Regions from separate parts of the Homo sapiens genome. Here region 2 is linked to region 1. The links are contacts of gene promoters, found by promoter capture Hi-C in human tissues and cell types (Jung and others, 2019). All regions are on one chromosome and are shown on one strand. The core of a region is centred on a gene start or on the middle of the fragment in contact, and the rest is flanking DNA. Distances in the headings are between cores, read along the strand shown. Region 1 holds the start of NKX3-2 (NK3 homeobox 2). Region 2 overlaps RAB28 (RAB28, member RAS oncogene family).

The links. Contacts are between HindIII fragments. The study calls those that stand out against the background at their distance.
Region 2: a fragment that was not itself captured here is called in contact with the fragment with the promoter of NKX3-2 in region 1 in 2 of the 25 tissues and cell types used here (hippocampus and neural progenitor cells).

What each region holds. Positions count from the first base shown.
Region 1 is chr4:13,542,186-13,548,947 of GRCh38, reverse strand. It overlaps NKX3-2 (NK3 homeobox 2), which reads left to right and starts at 4,440. Exons shown (of 2, transcript NM_001189.4): 1 at 4,440-4,999; 2 at 6,420-6,762. The coding sequence starts at 4,534. It overlaps LINC01096 (long intergenic non-protein coding RNA 1096), which reads left to right and starts at 1,124. Exons shown (of 1, transcript NR_015450.1): 1 at 1,124-2,872. RefSeq lists silencers at 988-1,287, 1,478-1,597, 6,515-6,644 and enhancers at 1,313-1,813, 1,814-2,314. The HindIII fragment of the contact is 14,287 bases long and covers 1-6,762 here.
Region 2 is chr4:13,476,148-13,482,909 of GRCh38, reverse strand. RAB28 (RAB28, member RAS oncogene family) reads left to right here. Exons shown (of 7, transcript NM_001017979.3): 2 at 3,384-3,480. Among named protein-coding and RNA genes, the nearest start is that of RAB28, 4.8 kb to the left of the region's middle. The HindIII fragment of the contact is 3,960 bases long and covers 922-4,881 here.

The DNA.
Region 1 (6,762 bases), core at 3,191-5,690:
CAATCTGGTTTCTGAACCTAATGAGTTTCCATCACCTGGCTGTCTCCCTCTACACACGGTTTAGTTTGTTGATTATAATAAAATGGTGTGTTTCCTTCTTTCTACACAACGAGGTTTACGTTCAGATCCGCAGGCCTTGGTGTGATTTGTTTTCAAATGCGTGGAACAGAAAAAAAGTCATTAGATTTGTCTGACTAAATTTTTTCTTTGATTACCTTAAATCCGAACGAAGCTCCTTTTCCAATGAATAAGCAATTAAAAATGGGTAAGGTCTATGATGGGAAACAATTAATAAGGTTAATGAGAAAAGCCGATTAGAGTAGAAAATCCAACTGGATTTGACATCAGACAAAGCCTGATTTAAATCCTGACAGCCACTTACTGATAGTCAGGAGTCTCAGTTTCTTCATCTGTAAAACGGGCATAACAATGTTTTCTACTCATTCCAATCCCAGGGGTGTGTACATTCAATGAAACAATAGGCTTTGGTTCCTGGCACACTGTCAGTGAGCAATATTTGTTAAAATATAAAACTACCTTTTATATTATTATTTATAGTATTATAAGCTGGCCAGTTACAATACAGCCTCTCTCTGCAGTCTGATATATTTTGATCGTGTGCATGAAAAACGCTGCAGGGCGCTGGATTACTCAGGAACGCAGGCGCGGGTGCTGGACGCTTGGGATGCTTAGGCGGTTTGGATCGCCCTCGGGAGTCTGCGGATTGGGACCGACGGTCAGTGCTGGGCGCGACCTCTGCCTGGACCTGGCTCTGGGGAGCCGGCAACGCTGCCCCTCCCTCCCCTCGCCCCCGCCCCCACCCCAAACACACACACACACCCTTCACTTGCTCACTCAGTGAAGCACCGGGTTCAGAAGGCACCGGGTCCAAACCCTCGTTTTAAAGGACTGGAAGCTAGAGAAGGCAGGTGACTTCAATCAAGGTCACCGGCATCTGAGGGACGAACCCCGCATGGCCTTTCGTTGCTGGGCAGCACCCGGCGCGCGCGACCTCCGGCCGCTGGCGTCAGGGAAGGCGGCCCAGGGCACAGGTGGCGGGCGTCGGGGGCGAGGCGCGCGGTGGCGCAGCCAGGAAATCCCGAGCCCACTGGGCGCCCCCCTCGGGAGCGCGGGCACGTGTGCAGCAGTTTACTGCGCGCCCCCGAGGGCCGGGGCTTCCCCTTCCCCGCCCCCTTGGCTTTCGCAGTCAAATCCCGCTCTCCGCCCGCCGCCCGCGGAAGTCTCACCGCGCAGCAGCACCCCCAGCCCGGGCGGTTCCGGGGACCGAAGGGCGCGGCACGTAGGGGGCCCGTAGGATCCAAACTGCGGAGGAGAAGCAGGAGGAGGGAGGAGGAAGAAGACAAAGGTGTGGAGGAGGAGGGGAGGGAGGAAGAAGGAAGAGAGGCAGAAGACTAGGAAAAAATGGGCCCGTGGGCGCGGAGGGGGCGCGGCGGGGTAGAGAGGCGCGGACGCTGAGCGAGCCCGGTGCCTCTCGAAAGCCTCACCGGCCGCCCGGCCGGGCCGCGCAGCTCCGCCAACTCCCGGGCCGGCCCAAGCCGGAGCGTGGCGCCCGTCGGGAGGTTGCAGAGTTCCTGGAGCTCACAGCTGAGCCCGAAGGAAGTCGCCCTCGATGGGCAGGAAGCGGGACCCAGGCACGCCCGCGCGGTCGCGTCCAGATCTGCCGTCCTCCGACAGGCGCAGGCCTGCTGCGCCTTCGCCACACACCGCCACTCTGGGCCTGGACTCCGTAGTTACGCCGGGATATCTCTGGGCATACAACCACCTCCCCTTCCCCACAGTCTTTTCATCTCCACCCGACCCCTTGCTAGGAGCAGCTTCTAGTTGCAGCTCAAGACCCGCGAGTTCACCCTCCGCGCCAAGCACCCAACTCCCGGCTCTGCCTACAGTCACCCACAGACCTAATGATCGACTAAGCGCCGTAATGGCCCGAGATGACACCAGGAGACTCCCTTGCTGTGCGCCTCCGGAAGACGCGGAACGTAGCCCCTTTCTCACACTCCTGGGACACAAAAATACCCGACAACTCAAAGTCGCCAAACCACATCTTTTCATGCTTTGAAGACTTCTGCCCAAGGCTGTGGCAGGAGTATGTCCAACTGTGATTTGGGATTCTTTTTAAACATCGAATCAAAGGGAAGAGGGGAGGGATTCGCAACTAAATGGTAGTTGTTTTCAAGCAAGTCTTTACGTAGCCCCAAACCTACTCTAGTATTCGGTGATTCAGCCCCAAAACATCTCTGCCTGCCTTTATGTTCGGATCTCACTCCATTATTTGTCAGCACCAAGTACTAAACCCACAAAGCGATCGCTGTACGGGACACCAAACCCATACCTGCCCGTCCCCTACCTTCCAGGCAACCAGTGTCAATCTCCTCACTATACATAATTCCCAACATCCCTGCCCGAAGTGAGGAGAACGGTAATTTAAATAATACAGCGGGGGAGGAGAGGACACACTGTTTTTGAAAGACTGTAAGCATTCTGCTGTTCCACTCTGCGTCCTTACACTTGCTGAGCACTGACACCAAATTTAAATGGCGTTCCTTCAAAACTGATGTAATTGTAAAGAGCTGTAAAGGGCAATGACCTCAAGTGGATGTTTTTTCCCAGGTACCCTACAAGGTTTGCACAAAGCAAGAAAGCATCATGTAACCGAAATGCTGAAAAGTATAGATGCTGCAAAACCTCATTCTGAGACTGAGAACTATGAATAGTCAGTGTATTTCCTTCTGCGGTGCAGAAAAAGAACAACCAAAAAGAAAGCAACAAGGGGAGATGTTATTTATTTTAATGACACCAAAACTACCAATCCTAGCAATTTAATAAATTAAAATCATAGTCCTTTAAATGTATTTAATGGTTCAAGTTTGTGTATTTGGTGTTAACTCTCTGGTAAAGTTTATGGAAAACAGTGAAGTACGTTAATTGAGCAAATTTTATATTAAAAAAGGAATAACACATTTTAAAATGTTTTTATATACCCACAATATTTGTGTTTCTTAGCTTGGTTCCTACTATTACATAATACAATGCATTTCTTATTTTTTAAAGAGCAAAAAGTGTTGTCACTTCTGGATCACTTTATGGTAATTCCTAGGTATACTTCTAAGCAAACAAACATATCTATTTATAATTTTATTCAACTCACAAGTAAGAGATATTTAAAAAAAACAAATTGAAAGTTTTTTTTTTCTTCCTGATGCAAAACTTAACAAACTCCAATTAAATTCAATATTGGTCTGCCAGGGAAACGACCATAAAATTTACAGAAATTCTCCCAAAGATGCCTTTCAATTCTTCTCCTGACTTTAGTTCTAACTATACCATTTTTTTATAATTCCTCTATAAAAATCGAATCAAATCAAAGACGACGAGGAAAGAAAAATATTTCTAGAGTGATCTTAATTAACTGATCATTTCAGCAAAGAGCATTAGCAATGAAGAAGCGGCGAAACTGTAGGGAGAAAAAAAAGGATGCATTTTGTTCTTCGTGTTTATAATCCTTCCTAGAGAACAGAAACTACGAGCATGATTTATGGAACTGCATTATCTTGGATTTTCTCCGCAGATTTGACTCAACTTAGTATCAGTGTTCTGTTAAAGCGCTGGAATAAGTGGATACATCTGCAGAGGTAAGAAACGTGGTTTGGGTCGGATGAGCCTCCTTGTTGCTGGAGGGTGCTTCGAGGACCAGGCTTAGGAGAGAAGGGGTTAAGTCAGACCCTGTCTTTAGCGGCGCAACGTGCCCAGTTTTGTCTGTTAAAGTCAACGTCGCCCAACTGGAGCCAGCCAATGGACGGCCGGGAGCGCCCGGGACAGCCCAGTGGAGGGGTGTGGCCTCAGGCTGTCACTCAGCAGTGAGGAATGACACCCGGGCGGGAGGGGGGTGGTACAGTGGAACGCAAGGGAAGGAAAGAGAAAAGAAACAGATAAAACCAGGGCAGGGGGTAAAAAAGTTCCCCGCGCCTCTCGGAATCCAGCGGCCGCGGCCGCGGCTACCGCCGCCGCCGCCGGGGGTGGGCTCCGGAAGAGCCTGCCCAGCAGGGAAGGGGAGGACGGGCCAGGAGCGAAATCCTGCAGGCGAGGAAGGGACAGACGCGCAAAGAAAAAGTGACTCGGGCTGTGCGCCCCGGCGGCGCTCGGGAGGGGACTGCTGCCACGGAGGGGCCCCCGCCAATCCTCCTTCACGTCCCCCGAGGGGGCAGACCCCAGCCCGCCCCTAAGGGCGAGAAGCGATGAGATAATCCAGCTGAGCTGCGAAAGGAGAGCGTCTGGCTCTGGATTCGGGGGGAGGGGGTCTCCGGGCGGGGTGGGCCTCTAAGGTGGGGGCGAGGGTCGGCGCTGATCCTGGGACGGAGTGGGGCGGGAGCTGCTGGGCCGCGCAGCAGTGGGCGGCGGCGGCCTCGCACACCCAGCTCACTCGCGCTGCGGCCGCCGGCGCTCTCTGTCCCGCTCGGAGCTGCTCGGCGCCCCAGCTGCCCGCCCCGCCGGCCGCTCCTGCCCGCGGCGCAGATGGCTGTGCGCGGCGCCAACACCTTGACGTCCTTCTCCATCCAGGCGATCCTCAACAAGAAAGAGGAGCGCGGCGGGCTGGCCGCGCCAGAGGGGCGCCCGGCGCCCGGGGGCACAGCGGCATCGGTGGCCGCGGCTCCCGCTGTCTGCTGTTGGCGGCTCTTTGGGGAGAGGGACGCGGGCGCGTTGGGGGGCGCCGAGGACTCTCTGCTGGCGTCTCCTGCCGGTACCAGAACAGCTGCGGGGCGGACTGCGGAGAGCCCGGAAGGCTGGGACTCGGACTCCGCGCTCAGCGAGGAGAACGAGAGCAGGCGGCGCTGCGCGGACGCGCGGGGGGCCAGCGGGGCCGGCCTTGCGGGGGGATCCTTGAGCCTCGGCCAGCCGGTCTGTGAGCTGGCCGCTTCCAAAGACCTAGAGGAGGAAGCCGCGGGCCGGAGCGACAGCGAGATGTCCGCCAGCGTCTCAGGTCTGCTGCGGCTTCGCGGGGATGGGGGCCGGGCTGAGGGGATGGACGCGGAGGGCAACCACGCCGAGTGGGGTGGTCGGCTTGAGCACCCTGCGCCCTGGGGCTCGGAGGCTGGCCAAATCCCGAAGTTCTGCGCTCTGGCGCGAGCTGCTCTATCACTTCGGGAACTGAGCCCGCGAGAGACCGGAGTAGCTCCTCAGAGCCCTACGTCCTGGGGTGAGGCCTGAGACATCCTGGGCCAATGTGCATTAGACTGGGTTGGGAGAACCGCTGCCCCTTGCGTTCGGGAGTTTTTGAGTTCGTCGCCAGTGCTTTCTGCCGTGTCTGTCCCCAAATCCCCAAAATCAGGGAAGCGGAAAAGTGAGGGGTTCAGAGACCTCAGGTAGCCAGTGACCTAGCTCTGGACCAGAGACCTGCCAGTTCAAGGTCCCAGGGCCGGGCCCCACAGTAGGTGGATAGGTGGTGAAGAACACCTCCGAGTGGGCCAGAGCTGAGAATCTGCAGAACTAGAGCTTTGGGGAAAGGGCTGGTTTGGCTTTCTCAGACCCCAGGTCTGGGAGAGCAGCCCTAGGCCGAAGATCCCGGATTGGGTCTTTAGTTCATCCTGGAGGCAGGAGAGAGGCCTCCTCAGCCGTGGCCTGTCCTGTCCTGTGGTCTGGAAGACCCGGGTGCCTGCCCTAGTTGGGTACAAGCTTCTGTAGGCCTCAAGCACAGGGGACCGCTGGACCTTTCTGCTGGAGTTCTTCGGAAGGGCGGGTACGAGACCGAGAAGCTGGTGTGGGATCAGGGTCCAAAAACTCGATGCAGGGGCAACCCTCCCTCTTTACTCTCCAGTCCATCCTCTCATCTAAGGCCTCGGCTCAGCCTGTTTCCATGTCTCTCACAGCAATCCCAGGCGGCTGAGGGTGAAAGATTCTAAATACCTTTGGCCCCAGGATCCGCCTCCACCTTCCCTTACCTGCACCAGACAAGTGTGTGCTGCGAGGACGCGCGCGTGTGTGCGTGTGAACTAAGTGTGGAGAGGCGCGTGAACCCAAGCAGAGAGACGGAAATGCAGTCTAGAATCCCAATGCTCAACGCTGAGAGCCGGGAGGGCTTTCGCGGATGCTCGGGTCGAGTGCCCCAAGTTACTGAGGGGAGCCTGGGGCCCAGAGAGGGTGGGGAGCTGGTCTCGACAACACAGCGTTGACACAGCGGCTGAGTCTGCCGCCCTCCCCAGAAGAGGCCTAGATGGGATACCCAGTGGGGCAAGAGTCTAAGACTGGTCTCCCGGGCCCAGGGCCTCCCAGACCTCCGCTCCGCTTGAGTGGGATCAAAGTGTATTTCCGCCCCACTCCCGTGACCCCTGCAGTTGAGGCCCGGCCTCACCTCGTCTGTGGCGCTGACAGTCTCTTGTTTCTGTTCCCACCGGGGTCCGCAGGCGACCGCAGCCCAAGGACCGAGGACGACGGTGTTGGCCCCAGAGGTGCACACGTGTCCGCGCTGTGCAGCGGGGCCGGCGGCGGGGGCGGCAGCGGGCCGGCAGGCGTCGCGGAGGAGGAGGAGGAGCCGGCGGCGCCCAAGCCACGCAAGAAGCGCTCGCGGGCCGCTTTCTCCCACGCGCAGGTCTTCGAGCTGGAGCGCCGCTTTAACCACCAGCGCTACCTGTCCGGGCCCGAGCGCGCAGACCTGGCCGCGTCGCTGAAGCTCACCGAGACGCAGGTGAAAATCTGGTTCCAGAACCGTCGCTACAAGACAAAGCGCCGGCAGATGGCAGCCGACCT
Region 2 (6,762 bases), core at 1,652-4,151, 64 kb after region 1:
TTGCATCCTCCCTGACAGTTGGCACTGCCCAGATACCTGCTTCTGCCTTTGGTTCTGACATTTGAGTTTCGAGGTCACCTGGGAAAGATGTAAAATTTTATATGCAAAATTTGAAGTATTTTTTTGTTTCTTTCTTGTCTTCTTGGATCCTTTGTTACAGATTTTTAAAGCTGAGGAAAACAATATGCTCTGATTACCTTTAAACGTTGGGGGAAGAAAGGAACTTGGGGTAACTTTTCTTTATAAAGTATATTAATTTTTGTATACTTAGTAAACTTTTCGAATGAATGAATTGCTATAAATAAATCATTGTTTCTAACACCTTTATTCAATAAAAAGTTTGTTAGATTTTTATAGTTTTCTCATCATTTAGATTTTCTTTTGAAGGCCGTCTAAGGTTTTGGCTCTTAAATTTTACTGTATTCAATTCATAACTGATCTTATTTCCCATTTAAAATGATAATGACAACTCATAACAATACATTTGTAAAAAGACACAAAAATTGCTGGTTATCCTATATGCTATCATAATTCTTTAAACTGTTGTTCATTTTTCTAACAGTATTTATTGTACATATATTACTTAGTGAAATTTGTTCATAATTTTGCGTCTGAGTTTTTTATTTAGCCTATCATACATGTTTCCTCTTTGTTGCTAATTTAGTGTGAATAATTATGGTTTTTTATCTCTGTTTAAAATTTTTTCTTGTATAGGACAGGATAATTTTTTCACTTCCATGTTTTTGAATTAGTATTATCATTCTGCTTCAAAGGATAACAGTTAATATTTTTTATGGTGCTCTGACTTAATCTTCATTATCTTGACTAAATAACTTATTTTAAAACTGTAACAGCTTTTTCTAACAGGAACTTCCAGACACAAACATCTGACACCTAACCTTCTTTCATTATTCTTAAATCAAGAATTTTTTTCTCCATACCCTATTCAGTTCTCAAATACTTGGCAGCCACCAACATTCCCATTCTTTTTCCTTTATTGTTCTTTTCTTTGTGAACTCAGCCTCTCTTTCATTCTTACTTGTATCCTGATTTAACTCTTGGCTCTTTTTTCCTGGCATTTGTTTTTCCTGCTCAATCTAACTCTGAGCATTTTTCAACACACTGACAGATGCAATAGAGTATTGAGATGATGACTAACAGTTTCTCCAAGAGAAATTTAGCTCCTCCTTCCAGTATCACGTGTTTCTATTTCTTTCCTTTTCTGATTCATATTTTTTCTTTTATTACATAGTCTCTTAAGAGCTTTTTGAGGCAAAATATTCTTTTTTTTTCTGTCTTTTCAGTGTTTGTAAATGTAGCATGGTTAAAAAATGTTAGTAGAAATTTACCAAGTCAAAAATGTTAGTAGAAATTTTCCAAATCAAAAAATATAAAGATTCAGATAAAAATATTTCTGATATGGGAGCTAGTTGTTCACTTAATACCTGTAATTAAGAAGGGTATTTATACAGTGACTTGAGAAATTATTGAATGTGAAAGATAGCATGCAGTCTAGATAAGTGAAGAGAAAGTGACCCCCACTGATTCAGTTGATTCTCTGTTCAATTTTTATCTCAAGACATCGGGAGATGATATAGTAAGAACTTACTTTAATACTCTGTATGTTCCCAGTAACCTGTATTTTTGACAGTTTACACTCGATTCCAGTTGAAAATCCTAGCTTTATGTTTGCCTCAAAAGTGTGAAAGCAGGGCTTTCAAAATCTAGAAGTCACTTTTTCAGGAAAAGAAACTTTCTTAGAATTTTTCTGAATATTCCTTAACATGAAAATATTGAACTCTGAGATTCTTTAAAGTGAAAAATTATCTCAAATGACATTACGTGAATGTTACACATGCCTTCAGTTTCTCTTTGACCTTTAAGTATTTCAACCATCAGTCTATTAAATATTTTGAAATATCTGTAATAGTATAAGTAGTGATAGTTATTTTTTTCTAGAATTCTGAACCTCTTCAAAGATGATTTTGTGGTCTAAGTTAGATAAGATCAGTAGAATAATATAGTGTAGATGAGAAACAATGGTCTGTAAAAAGAAATACCTATCTTTTCAATTCTGATCTCTCAGTTTTGATAGTGTTACATGTGTCAAAAATATAACAAATGTGTTTGTTTCTAGATGTCTAGCAGAATACCCTTTATATGGTAGTGCTCAACAAATACTTGGCCAATTATCTTCGAAATTTATTACAAATGCTGGGTATTTAAACCCAAAAATATTTGGAGTTATGGTGTCCAAATTGCCATTTGTGTGAAAAATATGGTTCTGTGTAAAAGGAATTTTAGATGATCTTGCTAAAAGGAATTGAAGTTTGGCCAAATTTTCTTTTGCACTATTGTACTGCTTATGTCATAAGGAACTGTAATAAGCTATCTTGGAAATTTATCTTAGTTTTCATTATTTTAAGAGTTGACATGTAATTTTAACTTTTAAAATAAAAAACGGCTATTTTCTCTTAAAGTAGGGAGTCTGTCTTGAAGAGCATAAAAGCTTAGTGAAGTTGCCTTTCTCTTTTTTGGAGGAAGTTTATAAATAAAAATAGTGCATTTAAAATGTTTAAGAATTTGTTAAGTTATTGTTATTCAGTTGTTACTAGAATAATTATTCTTTTGCTTTGATAAGAAATGGTACTTTAAAAAGAAAACTCCAGAGTTTTTGACTAAAACTTTCAGTTTCTATTAAAAAACAAATGTATATCTGTTCTGGTTATGATAGCTTGTGACTTCTTGGCATTATGGTTCTTGGATGGAAAATATTCATTTTGTCTGCTTTATATTAATCTTAAAAATACGTTTATTTAAGAGGTACATATTGTCACAGTCTTTCTTTAGGGTCATTTTCATTTAGCATCTTTAAAAATAAAGAAAAATTACATACGGTGCTTTTCTTGTGGGAAAAAGAAAAATTCTGTAAGCAGATTTCTCCCTCCTTAATGAATGCTTCTTATTATTAGCTTAGTGCTCAGCTACCCTCAGAATATTTAACCTCAGAAGCTGATCTAAGTTAGATTAGATCTTTAATTATGTTTTAAAATAATTCAGATCTTTATTTATTTATTTTTTAGTTTTTTTTTCTGTTGATAACTCTCAAATTCTAATTTTCAGCAAGGAAAAGGATCTTGACAAGCAGGGGATTTAAAGAGATCTAACTCATTAGTTCGTTGTCCCTACCGATAGCTGCTGGCAAGTAAAATTTACCTGGTGGTGTTAAGTCTCTCCCCTCCTTGTAACTGATTAGAACTGCTTAAATTTGCTTGTTGGATTAATTGCAATATACATGTTAAGATTGCTTAAGATTTATAGTGGTCTTATGATTACATTTCTTTAATGAATTAATTTTGACATTCTGTGCATCAATTTTTTAGACCTCCTTAACTACGTGTTTTGCTCAAGAAACTTTTGGGAAACAGTACAAACAAACTATAGGACTGGATTTCTTTTTGAGAAGGATAACATTGCCAGGTAAGAGACTAAAAAGTCTTAACGTAGAAGATTATAAAAAAATCTTAACAATAAGTGGCATAAGAAAGAAATGTGTAAAATTTTGGGGCTGCTTCTACATGAAGATGTATATAAACAGTAAATTTATCTTAGGGATGTTAACTTTCATCACAATCTATCATGAAAGCATATTGTCCATGGGTATAAGAAAAAGTTTATATACTCTCCCACTCCTTCCCTGTTTTTGGCTACTATACATTTTTTGAGGATAAACAATGGTTGCTTATAAAATTGTGAAAAGCTTTTAAAAAATTAAGTGCTGTACATTTGTCAACAGATATTGTATTAACAAAATGTGAAAAGATTGGGAAGGATTATTTTTTAAAATATTATTTTGATTTGCCTCTGTTTTAGTTTTTTGTTTAAAGTTGGAACAGAAGTATAATGTAGCTATGGAACTTCTGTGCTCTAATATGTGAATGCTGTTTTATGCAAGGCAGCATGAAATTGCTGGCATTTAATAGACCACTAAAATTTAGGGTCCCTAGGCACTCATAAAAATACAGTTTGAGCATTCAAGATGTTTCACTTCACCATGCAAAGAAACTATTTAGATGCCAGTTGCAGCACATTTTGTGGGAAATACGGGGAAATAATAACAAAGAAAGAGTGGTTTATGTTTTAAGTTAGTTTCTGAACAATTGGGGCTTTAAAATGCTGTCCTTTCAATTTCAATGGTTAAATTATATGTTTAAAGTATTTTATTAAAAGCAGTTTATCTTGATTGACTTTATAAACCATCCATCTCTCTCCTCTGTGAGGAAGCACATTTGGAGAAAATGGTTGCAAGTGTAATGTCAGATTCATGTACTGAAATGTGAGTGATACAGTGGGAAGGGGTTTAATACATTCCAATTATTATTGAAATATGTTAACCTCTCAGACACCCCATCTATCAGACAACTCCCCATGAAAGTTTTAGAGTAGGTAATGAAAACTCTTGGTAATGGAGGTATTCTTCTTATCTCCTTAGTAATATACTCTGCTATATTTTGTGATAGTTTGTATTTGGCTACCAGTGAAAAATAGATTAGGAGATATCCCATGAGAAAAAAAAGAATTCCAATTTTTCCATTACTGGGTTATTGTTCAGCAAGAGGTTTAAGGAGAAACATATGCGTACTTTGTTTCATTTGTATTTTCTTTTATTGTATCCAAAACTGAAAATGTCATTTTAATTTTATTATTCTCACTCTTACGGATAATCTATGCTGCATTCAGAATACTTAACAGCAGTCACTAGCTGAATACATACACAGATCACATAATACAGATGCTGGAAGCTTATTTTTGCAGGAGTTTTTTTCACAGATGCCAGTTGTACACAGAGAATCTCAAATGTGGCATTTCATTATTAGCTATTTTGTTTTGATGCTTAATTTGAAAAGCCACCAACTTCTTGTCTCATTACTTTATTATTTCTCATTTTTTAGTTGAAAAGCTTAAATAAACAAGTACCTACTCAAATATTAAAAACAAAGACTGGTTTTCAGACATTTTATACAGGTGATATGATGATTTCTGACCTGTGGCCCAGCACTACCAATTTAAAAATTTTGATTACTTTGTAAAAAATATTTGATATTCTTGAAATCGAGATTTATAGTATAATATTTTAGACTTAGTAATTAGGTTAAAAAATGACATTAGGGCATGTATACTAATGAATGTATATTTTAATTTTCCTAATTAAGTTTTTATTTTGATGGCAAAGTTCCAGAAAAAAACTTCTATTTTTTTTTTAAGGCAGTTGGTTTTATGCTACTTAACAGACTCAAACTTATGGTAGAAATTTCAATAAGAAAAAATATTTTAATGTATTTTGTTTTTATATAATTAATAGGTATATTAAGAAATGAGGTGAATAAATTACAAGGTTTATAATTATCCTTTATATACTTTAATGTACATTCATTATAAGTGTCACATGTAGGATGATTAATGTATCATTAGCTGAATAAAACATTACAGGTAGCTTTATTGAATTTATAGCATAGTCGGTGAATCTAATATTTGTTACTAGTCTGGTAAGTCCTCTGACCAGTTAGATTGTTAGGGGTGTAAACCTCCTGTCCATCTATTTACATTCTCTTCATGCAAGTTTTCAAGATCATTACTTTGCAAATACTCATCCATTTTAGTATATTTCATGATCCGGTATGCTGTATAGTCTGGATGCAACCACTGTGCAGATTTTACTGCTTAAAATAGTGTATCTGTTAGTCAGAGATTCTGCTGATAGAGCTTCTTAAGAGCCTTAGTCAAAATACTTTCAGGAAGCTTGTGGGTACAGTCCAGTAAACAGCGTTCTACTGTGAAAAAGATTTCTAAGTCTTTAGTACAAGAAGTGGGCAGACTTGTGTTTTTAGTTCCATCTTGACTATGCAGCACTTTAAGTAAGGTTAACCAAGGCACCAAGTGTACTTTTACAAGGTCACTGTTGAACCCTCTTGGTGGCTTTAATTCATACCAAAAGCAACTTACCTGTGTTTTGTCACCTCATTTATTTTATTTTTTCTCCTAGTTACATGTCATTTCTTACAGAGGAACAGGAATTTTGCAGCATTTTGTGTTTGGGATTAGATTTCTGACAATTTCCTTAATGTTCTTTATTGGTTAGAAATTTGTATTAGATATATTCTTGATTTAAACAAAATTATAATATTATTTGAATATTCTTATATAGCTTTATAGGTATGTCATCTTGAAAATATACTAGGAGAATTCATATGTTTATGCCTGCAAAAATGAAAATGAATATTGATTTGAATCATATCCTCATGGGATTTTGCTCCTCAAATAAGGAATCCACATTTTATTTTTAGTTTTATGTGTTAATAATCCTAAAATTAAAATGTGGAGTTAAAAATATATTTCTAGATATAAGAAGTAATATTAAAATATCATTTATTGAAACTAAAGATAGTCATTTTTTGTTAGCATTCTATATTAGTGGACTATCAGTAATTCATAGCTATTTTTATTTCTGAGTCACTGGAATTTGTATGTTAAAAAAAACAGGCAAACACTGATAACAGGGTTTATTTAGAAAGGCATGCATTTAAAAAGTATCCTCAACACATGACTATGAACCTCTTAGATGGGAGACAGTTGGATAGATAGATGATTTAGGGTCTTGATATGATTGTAGTCAGAATTTGAAAACATGTAATGAAGATCATGTTCCTAAAATTACAGTCAAAGTGTTCACAACACCTAATTCAGATAGGATCTGAATATCAG